2 separate regions of the Homo sapiens genome follow, and region 2 is linked to region 1. The links are contacts of gene promoters, found by promoter capture Hi-C in human tissues and cell types (Jung and others, 2019). All regions are on one chromosome and are shown on one strand. Each heading gives the region's core, a stretch centred on a gene start or on the middle of the fragment in contact. The rest is flanking DNA. Distances are from core to core; before and after follow the strand shown. Region 1 overlaps STARD9 (StAR related lipid transfer domain containing 9). Region 2 holds the start of EPB42 (erythrocyte membrane protein band 4.2).

Evidence for each region. The method cuts DNA at HindIII sites, captures the fragments that hold promoters and counts their contacts. A contact is called where the count stands out against the background at its distance.
Region 2: the fragment with the promoter of EPB42 here is called in contact with a fragment that was not itself captured in region 1 in 1 of the 25 tissues and cell types used here (lymphoblastoid cells).

Annotation. Positions count from the first base shown.
Region 1 is chr15:42,689,644-42,694,482 of GRCh38, forward strand. It overlaps STARD9 (StAR related lipid transfer domain containing 9), which reads left to right. Exons shown (of 33, transcript NM_020759.3): 23 at 1-4,699. Among named protein-coding and RNA genes, the nearest start is that of CDAN1, 45 kb to the right of the region's middle. The HindIII fragment of the contact is 5,901 bases long and covers 1-4,839 here.
Region 2 is chr15:43,218,107-43,222,945 of GRCh38, forward strand. EPB42 (erythrocyte membrane protein band 4.2) reads right to left here and starts at 2,912. Exons shown (of 13, transcript NM_001114134.2): 1 at 2,710-2,912. The coding sequence starts at 2,719. The HindIII fragment of the contact is 9,374 bases long and covers 1-4,839 here.

The DNA of each region.
Region 1 (4,839 bases), core at 1,013-3,512:
GTGAACCATTTATATGTCACTCTAGTTCTTCTGAAATCATAGAGAAAAAGAAAGATGCAACCAGAACACCTTCCTCAGCTGATCCTTTGGCCCCAGACAGTCCTCGTTCTTCAGCACCTGTGGAGGAGGTCAGGAGGGTAGTATCAAAGAAGGTAGTGGCTGCCTTACCTTCTCAGGCCCCTTATGATGATCCTAGAGTGACTCTGCATGAGCTAAGTCAGTCAGTTCCGCAGGAGACTGCAGAGGGCATACCCCCTGGCAGTCAGGACAGCAGCCCAGAGCATCAGGAACCCAGAACTCTAGACACCACATATGGAGAAGTTTCAGATAATTTGTTAGTGACTGCACAGGGAGAAAAAACAGCCCATTTTGAAAGTCAGTCTGTGACCTGTGATGTTCAGAATTCTACAAGTGCCTCAGGGCCTAAGCAAGACCATGTCCAATGCCCTGAGGCTTCTACTGGCTTTGAAGAAGGTAGGGCAAGTCCCAAACAAGATACCATTCTGCCTGGAGCTCTGACAAGGGTTGCACTGGAAGCTCCCACACAGCAGTGTGTGCAGTGTAAGGAGAGTGTTGGGTCTGGGTTGACAGAAGTCTGCAGGGCTGGCAGCAAACATTCCAGGCCAATTCCACTGCCAGATCAAAGACCAAGCGCAAATCCTGGGGGAATTGGGGAGGAAGCCCCATGTAGACACCCAAGGGAAGCTTTAGATGGCCCTGTCTTCTCAAGGAACCCTGAAGGCAGCAGGACTCTCAGCCCGTCTAGAGGGAAAGAGAGCAGAACTCTTCCTTGCCGACAGCCATGCAGTTCTCAACCTGTTGCTACTCATGCTTATTCCTCCCATTCCTCTACTTTACTGTGTTTTAGAGATGGTGACCTAGGGAAGGAGCCTTTCAAGGCTGCCCCACATACTATCCACCCACCCTGTGTAGTACCTTCCAGGGCCTATGAAATGGATGAGACAGGAGAGATCTCTAGGGGACCTGATGTGCACTTGACACATGGCCTTGAGCCCAAAGATGTTAACAGGGAATTTAGGCTAACAGAGAGCAGCACTTGTGAGCCTTCTACTGTGGCTGCTGTCCTATCTCGAGCTCAAGGCTGCAGATCCCCTTCTGCTCCTGACGTGAGGACAGGTTCCTTCAGCCACTCAGCTACTGATGGAAGCGTGGGGTTAATAGGGGTTCCTGAGAAAAAGGTTGCTGAGAAGCAAGCAAGCACAGAACTTGAGGCTGCCTCTTTCCCTGCAGGCATGTACTCTGAGCCCCTGAGGCAGTTTAGGGACAGCTCTGTAGGTGACCAGAATGCACAGGTGTGTCAAACCAATCCAGAACCACCTGCAACAACTCAGGGACCACACACCCTGGATTTAAGTGAAGGGTCTGCTGAGAGCAAGTTGGTGGTAGAGCCACAGCATGAATGTTTAGAAAATACCACTAGATGTTTTTTGGAAAAGCCACAATTTTCCACTGAGTTGAGGGATCACAATCGCTTGGATTCCCAAGCCAAGTTTGTAGCAAGGTTAAAACATACCTGCAGCCCCCAGGAAGACAGTCCCTGGCAGGAAGAAGAGCAGCACAGAGACCAGGCTTCAGGTGGTGGAGAAGGCTTCGCCCAGGGTGTGAATCCCCTTCCTGATGAAGATGGCTTAGATGGCTGTCAGATTTTAGATGCTGGGAGAGAGGAGGTGGCTGTGGCCAAGCCTCCTGTGTCCAAGATTTTATCACAGGGCTTCAAAGACCCAGCCACTGTGTCCTTGAGGCAAAATGAAACACCGCAGCCTGCTGCTCAGAGGAGTGGCCACCTCTACACTGGCAGAGAGCAGCCAGCACCCAACCACAGGGGCTCACTTCCTGTGACTACAATCTTCTCTGGCCCCAAACACTCCAGGTCCTCCCCCACACCACAGTTCTCAGTTGTCGGCTCTTCTCGTTCTCTTCAGGAGCTGAACTTGAGTGTGGAGCCTCCTTCCCCTACAGACGAAGATACACAGGGGCCTAACAGATTGTGGAACCCACATCTCAGGGGCTATTCCTCAGGAAAGTCAGTGGCAAGAACATCTCTGCAGGCTGAGGACAGCAATCAGAAAGCCTCATCTCGCTTGGATGATGGGACTACCGATCACAGGCACCTGAAGCCTGCCACCCCTCCTTATCCAATGCCTTCCACTCTCTCACACATGCCAACCCCTGATTTCACGACCAGCTGGATGTCTGGTACTTTGGAACAAGCCCAACAGGGAAAGCGAGAGAAACTGGGTGTCCAGGTTAGGCCAGAAAATTGGTGCTCTCAGATGGACAAAGGAATGCTGCACTTTGGCTCCAGTGACATCAGTCCCTATGCGCTGCCGTGGCGTCCGGAGGAGCCTGCACGTATCAGCTGGAAGCAGTATATGTCTGGCAGTGCAGTCGATGTTTCCTGCAGCCAGAAGCCCCAGGGGCTGACACTATCAAATGTGGCCCGGTGCTCCAGCATGGACAATGGCCTAGAAGACCAGAACTCCCCTTTCCACTCCCACCTCAGCACTTACGCCAATATTTGTGATCTGTCAACCACACACAGCAGCACTGAGAATGCCCAGGGTTCAAATGAGGCCTGGGAAGTATTCCGAGGGAGTTCTTCAATTGCCTTAGGAGACCCCCACATCCCGACGAGCCCTGAAGGAGTAGCCCCCACTTCGGGTCATGACAGAAGGCCTCAGTTCAGGGGCCCTTCTGGTGAAGCAGACTGTCTGAGGAGTAAGCCCCCCTTGGCCAAAGGAAGTGCTGCAGGTCCAGTGGATGAGATTATGCTGCTGTATCCATCAGAGGCAGGCTGCCCTGTGGGACAGACCAGGACGAACACATTCGAACAGGGCACACAGACCCTCGGCAGCAGGCGCCACTGGAGCAGCACTGACATCTCCTTTGCTCAGCCTGAAGCCAGTGCAGTATCAGCCTTTGATCTGGCCTCATGGACCAGCATGCACAATCTGTCTCTCCACCTCTCACAGCTCCTGCACAGTACCTCAGAGCTGCTTGGGAGTCTCTCCCAGCCAGATGTGGCCAGAAGGGAGCAGAACACCAAGAGGGACATCCCAGATAAAGCCCCACAGGCCCTGATGATGGATGGCTCTACTCAGACCACTGTGGATGAGGGCAGCCAGACTGACCTCACCTTACCCACCCTGTGCCTCCAGACTTCAGAGGCTGAACCTCAGGGAGCCAATGTGATCCTTGAAGGGCTAGGCTCAGATACCTCGACTGTGTCTCAAGAAGAGGGAGATGTGCCAGGGGTACCTCAGAAGAGAGAGGCAGAGGAAACAGCACAGAAAATGGCTCAGCTCCTCTATCTTCAGGAAGAAAGCACTCCCTACAAGCCCCAGAGCCCTTCAATACCCTCATCCCACTTGAGGTTTCAGAAAGCCCCCGTTGGGCAGCATCTTCCTTCTGTGAGCCCCTCAGTTTCTGATGCTTTCCTGCCTCCCAGCTCCCAGCCAGAGGAGTCATATTGCTTAGTTGTCAGCAGTCCCAGTCCCAGCTCCCCTCATTCCCCAGGGCTCTTTCCCAGTACTTCCGAGTATCCTGGGGACTCCAGGGTCCAGAAGAAGCTGGGCCCCACAAGTGCTTTGTTCGTGGACAGGGCCTCCTCCCCAATCCTCACTCTTAGTGCCAGCACCCAAGAGCCGGGTCTTTCCCCAGGCTCTTTGACCCTCTCAGCCCCTTCAACTCACCCTGTTGAAGGCCACCAGAAGCTTGACTCCAGCCCAGACCCTGTTGATGCCCCAAGGACTCCAATGGATAATTATTCCCAAACCACTGACGAGTTAGGTGGCTCCCAGAGAGGTAGAAGTTCCTTACAAAGGAGTAATGGGAGATCCTTCCTTGAGTTGCACTCCCCACACAGCCCACAGCAGAGTCCAAAACTCCAATTTAGTTTCTTAGGGCAGCACCCTCAGCAGCTTCAGCCCAGGACAACTATCGGGGTCCAAAGCAGACTGCTGCCACCACCACTGAGGCACAGGAGCCAAAGGCTGGGCAACAGCTTTGTGCCTGAGAAGGTGGCTTCCCCGGAGCATTGCCCACTGAGCGGTAGGGAGCCAAGTCAGTGGCAGAGCAGGACAGAAAATGGAGGTGAGAGTTCAGCATCTCCAGGGGAACCACAACGCACTCTGGACCGACCTTCTTCATGGGGAGGCCTCCAGCACCTCAGCCCCTGCCCTGTCTCTGAGTTGACTGATACTGCAGGGCTCCGAGGTTCTGCCTTGGGCCTCCCTCAGGCCTGCCAACCTGAGGAGTTACTGTGCTTCAGTTGCCAGATGTGCATGGCCCCTGAGCACCAGCACCACAGTCTGAGGGACCTCCCGGTGCATAACAAATTTAGTAACTGGTGTGGGGTTCAGAAGGGCTCACCTGGGGGGTTGGACATGACTGAGGAGGAGCTGGGGGCCAGCGGTGATCTCAGCTCTGAAAAGCAGGAACAGAGTCCCCCACAACCTCCTAATGACCACAGCCAGGATTCTGAGTGGTCCAAGAGGGAGCAGATCCCCCTGCAAGTTGGGGCCCAGAACCTCTCACTCAGCGTGGAACTCACAGAAGCGAAACTGCACCATGGCTTTGGGGAGGCCGATGCCCTGCTCCAGGTGCTGCAGAGTGGGACAGGGGAGGCGCTTGCTGCTGATGAACCTGTGACATCCACCTGGAAGGAGCTCTATGCACGGTAAGGACCCCCAGCCTGGAGTCGGGAGGGGAAGGGGTGGGCTGTGAGGAAAGAGAACCCAAGAAAGCTAATAGCTTGCTGTTTCCTCTGCCCTGGTTCATCTCTGGGATCTTCCAGGGGTCAGAGATAGATCTTAAAGT
Region 2 (4,839 bases), core at 1,662-4,161, 530 kb after region 1:
GGGATTTGTAAACTGAAGTACAGCAGCACTCAGAAACCAAAAACGATTCCTCTTTCTGCTTAGCACAAAGCTCGTGCTGGGGCCCAGGGTAAGCCCTGCCTCTGCAGACTGGTTGAGTTGGATTGGATGGTGGAATGCCTTAGTCACATCCTAAGTCATATGACTTGAGCCTCCGTGTATCCGAACCCACGTAATGACCATAGTGTTACGGCAAGAGTCACTAGAATTCATTTGGATTCTTGTTCTGTCTAGAAGGCTCCCACCATCTCTTCTCTACCTGGCAGATGTCTACTCATCTTCCAAGATCCAAAGGCACCCACCTCTGTAGCCTTCACTGACTCCTCCTGGCAGAGGTCAGTCCTCTGGACTCCCACAGTACTCTGCTCCACTTTCTTCAGCACTTATCCCATTTGATACCCATCACCTGCTTAGTCCTCTGCTCCCCTTTTCACTGTGAGCTCCCCAAGATACAGTGCTTTCTCATATCTGCATCCTCTGTCCCAGCAGAACTCAATAGATAGCCAATCAGTGTTTGCTCCGTCAATGAATGGATGAGAACATTGAGACGGCCTTAAAGGAGATTTTCTCAGATACATCACAGGGGCCTCAGGCCCCCACCTGTGCTGCCAGACCCTCGCAGGGCCCCTGAGGTTTCTGCATTCTTTAGGTCTGCCTGGTTTCTTGGTTTATCTCTGCCTCTGCCCCTTTTAGGTGGATTCATTGACTCCTGCCTCCCCTTCTCTCCCACTGGGTCTTGAGGCAATGATACCTTCGTGTTTTCTCACCATCTCCTATTTGTACCACAGCCCATGAGAAGTTGTGTTAACCCGGAGATCATGTGGAATGCTCTTCAGAGGTGCACAATACCCCACCCTCCTCCCTCTCTGCCTTTCACAATACCCCAGAGCTGCCTCAGATGTGCCCCTCAAGCAGTTCTGTGTTTAACGACTGGCTGGGGGGAGGGGGCGGTGAGGGGAAAGGGCGTACTGAGTTACAGCATTTGCCAAGTTCTGTTGTGTAAACTACGCCCCCTGTGGCCAGTCTGAAGCTACTGAGGTGATGTCAGCAAGCGCAGAGCTGTGAAGAGGCGCGGACTGGCACATCATCATGTGGTTTTTCCAGCACAGAGATACAGGAGACATAAACGCCCTCAAGAACATAAAGGTAAAAAGGAGTAAAATACGTAGGAAGTGATGAGTTTAGAGTACTTATTATCTTTCTTTTTAATATAAATTTTTTACTTGTAAGTTTATACAATTTAATTTTTAATAATGCCTGTGTTTAAGAACTGGTTCACAAGGTTCCTCAAAATTTAGCAATTGGCTCTTGCAAGTCAGCACAAGCCAGCTCCAGCCACTGCAGCATGTCATGAGTTCATACTCAGTGATTCTCATCTGGTGGCTACTGGGCCCTCTGCCACCCACTGCCTGGAAAGAATTTAGTGCCCAGGGGCATCCTCTGGTTTGGGACTAGACTAAACAATCTCCTGATATCTTTGTGTTTCTCTGATTGAGTAGATTTTAATTTGTCTGGTCTCTACAGAATAAAAAGAACGATTTGGCCAGGCGCAGTGGCTCACGCCTGTAATCCCAGAACTTTGGGAGGCCGAGGCGGAGGATCACGAGGTCAAGAGATCGAGACCATCCTGGCCAACAAGGTGAAACTCCGTCTCTACTAAAAATACAAAAAATTAGCCGGGCATGGTGGTGGGTGCCTGTAGTCCCAGCTACTCAGAAGGCTGAGGCAGGAGAATCACTTGAACCCAGGAGGCGGAGGTTGCAGTGAGCCGAGATTGCGCCACTGAACTCTAGCCTGGTGACAGAGAGAGACTCCGTTTAAAAAAAAAAAAAAAAAGGACAATTTATTGGTGTCTGCCCTATTTTCACAAGACGTGGCTGAGATTATTGACTTAATTCACCCAGAGTTCTTTTTCTTCCCTTCTCAGCTGTTGGTCTCAGCGTCAGTTGCCCTCCGCACACCAGACCAACCAGGGCAGGGGAGTGAGGCAGTTTCTATAGCAACAGAACCACAGCTGCACCCCACTGTCCCCACACCTCTGCACCATTTCCCTCTGCCTACCCGCTTGCTTCTCCCAGGACACAAAACAGCCAGGCAATTCCCAGGCCAGGATATAATAATTCCTGCCAAGAGTGCTGCGACTCTGACCACCTGTGTTGGTTTCTTGCTTTGTGTCTGCCTCTGCCCCTTTTAGGTGGATTCCCTGACTCCCTCCTCTCCTTCTCTCCCATTTGGTGTAGAAGCTGTGACACCTTCATGCTACCCAGGGTGTCTCTCATTTGTATCAGTAAGCTGTGAACACTTATGCTATGATGACCTTGGGATAAGAATATAAATCCATGTTAACCACCATCACCATCTCACCATCATACAACTATCATGACCAGTTTACCCCAACATGCTACCCCATAACCACCCCACAGCAACATCACCATCACCTCCGCCTCCGCCTCCACCAGCACCCATCATCACACCACGCTCCACAGCCAGCTCACTATCACCTCTACCAGCACCCACCTACCACACCCCCCCCCCACAGCCACCTCATTATCACCAGTACCCCCTCCCCCACCATAGTTATACCACCATCTCCCCGCCTACCATCCATCCCACTTCCTTTAATGAAAACAGGTGATGCTGCGGGGGCTGCATACAGTCCAGCAAGCCCTGTCGAGCGCTGGCTTGGCTCACCCTGTCCCATGGTTGCAGGCCGCTCCTCTTATCCACTTGGCCGCAGAAAGCGCCTCTCTCAAACTGTTGCTTCTGGGCTCCTTCTGGGCTTTCTGTCTTCCAGACAGAAAATATGAAGGCACTTTTGTTGGCTTAAGAATCTGGAAATAGCAAAACCTCCCCCCACTACTCCTGTGAGCACCCTGACATGTTTCTTCTCTCCTACTCCCTCTCTGCTGGTATCTCCTGGACCAGTTACTGGGAGTAACCCTGTTCATTTTATCTCTTGTGCCAGGAGGCCCAGGCAGGAATACGCCTGGCAGCCCTGGGGGAGGGGGTGGGATGGGGAAGACCTGCCAACTAGAGAAGCCTAGAACAAACCTTGAAGCCTCTTGCTTCAGTGGTCTCAAGAGACTCTCAGAGATGTTATCTGGACTGCACTGGAAGACTCTGGAAGAGAGGAGGCCACAAACAGGAGTCCCATATCCAACTCCAAATCTCAGGCCCTAAACGTGACAGGGGCTGCAAGTTGCAAGATGTTCATGGGCTGTTTTGATAATAGAGAGAACACGTGCATCTGCAATTTATCTGTGTGAAAAAGATAAGGAAGTAGAATTTGTTGGTGAAAAATAAATGTATTAAAAGTAGAAGCTGGGGCCCCAACTCTTCCAAGCCTACCTGGTCTGGGACCCTCTACCAGAGAAGGTTGGGAACTATCTTGGGACTCAGGCCCTATGTCTTTTCAATTTTTCTTTCTTTAGTTCCTGAAGAGACAAGAGAAGGATCTCATATTTGGCCCTACCTGGGCTTGTGAAACTGTGTTACCAGAAGCACTTTCAGGGCAGCTGTACTTGCTGCATATACATGAGACGTCTATAGAATGATATAAAACACACTGCCAAAAATATTGGTTGCCTGTGGGGAGGGGATCTGGGCAGTGGGGTAGAAAGGTTATCTTTCTGCTGTTTACTCTTTTATACTTTTAAAACTTTGAACTTTTGAACTCATTTGAAGGATCTTATTATGTAAAAAAAAAAAAAAAAAAAAAAAATGAAACTTCTGCCTTTCACTAGCGCAGTGGCTCATGCCTGTAATCCCAGCACTTTGGGAAGCCAAGTCAGGCGGATCACCTGAGGTCAGGAGTTCGAGACCAGCCTGGCCAATATGGTGAAACCCTCTCTCTACTAAAAATACAAAAATTAGCTGGGCGTGGTGGCAGGCGCCTGTACTCCCAGCTACTCAGGAGGCTAAGGCAGAAGAATTGCTTGAACCTGGGAGGCTGAGGTTGCAGTGAGCCAAGATCGTGCCACTGCACAGCCAGCATGGAGCAAGACTCCATCTCAGAAAAAAAAAAAAAAATCCTTCATAAGAAATGAAGAAGTTAATTTTTCATTATTTGAAGATGTCATTTTTTACCTGGAAAACTTGAATCTACTAACAATGATTATAAAAGGTAATTTAGTGAGCTGGCTAATACCAAAAGTATAGAAGCCAATAGTTTTCATACCTGCAATCAATAACAAGTCAGAAACTGTAATTAAAGACCCAACCTATAATAGCAACAACAACAAAAGGTGAAATTTCTAGAAATAAACTTAAGAAATGTGAAGTGCTGTCAGTAAAACACTTGGAAACGGTATGGAGGGACACCAAATAAGACTTGAGCAGATAAAAAGGAAGATCACCATCCTGTGTAGGACAACTCAACTTTATAAAGCGGTCATTTCTTCCCAAGTTGATCTTAAGTTTAATTCATTCCCAATAAAAACACCAAGATTGTTTTTTGAAACTAGGTAAACTGATTCTAAGGTTCAAAAGGAAATTTCTAAGATAATAATAAAGTGTGACCAGCCTTCCTAGATATGAACACATAATATGATATTACTGTAATTGAAAAGTCCATAGATCAAAATACATGTATTAAATGTATGCTAAATGTGGCACTTCAAATCCATGGGGAAATGAAGGATTTATCAGTAAATGATTTTGGGACAACTAGCTTGTCAAAATACAGTTGGCTTCCTATCTTATGCCACACATCAAAATAAATTTCAGATGGATCAAAACTCTTATTAAATTCTTAAAGTAATAGAAGAAAAAATGAGACACTTCTTCTTAAGTTAACTTGGGAAAACCTTTAAAAATATTATG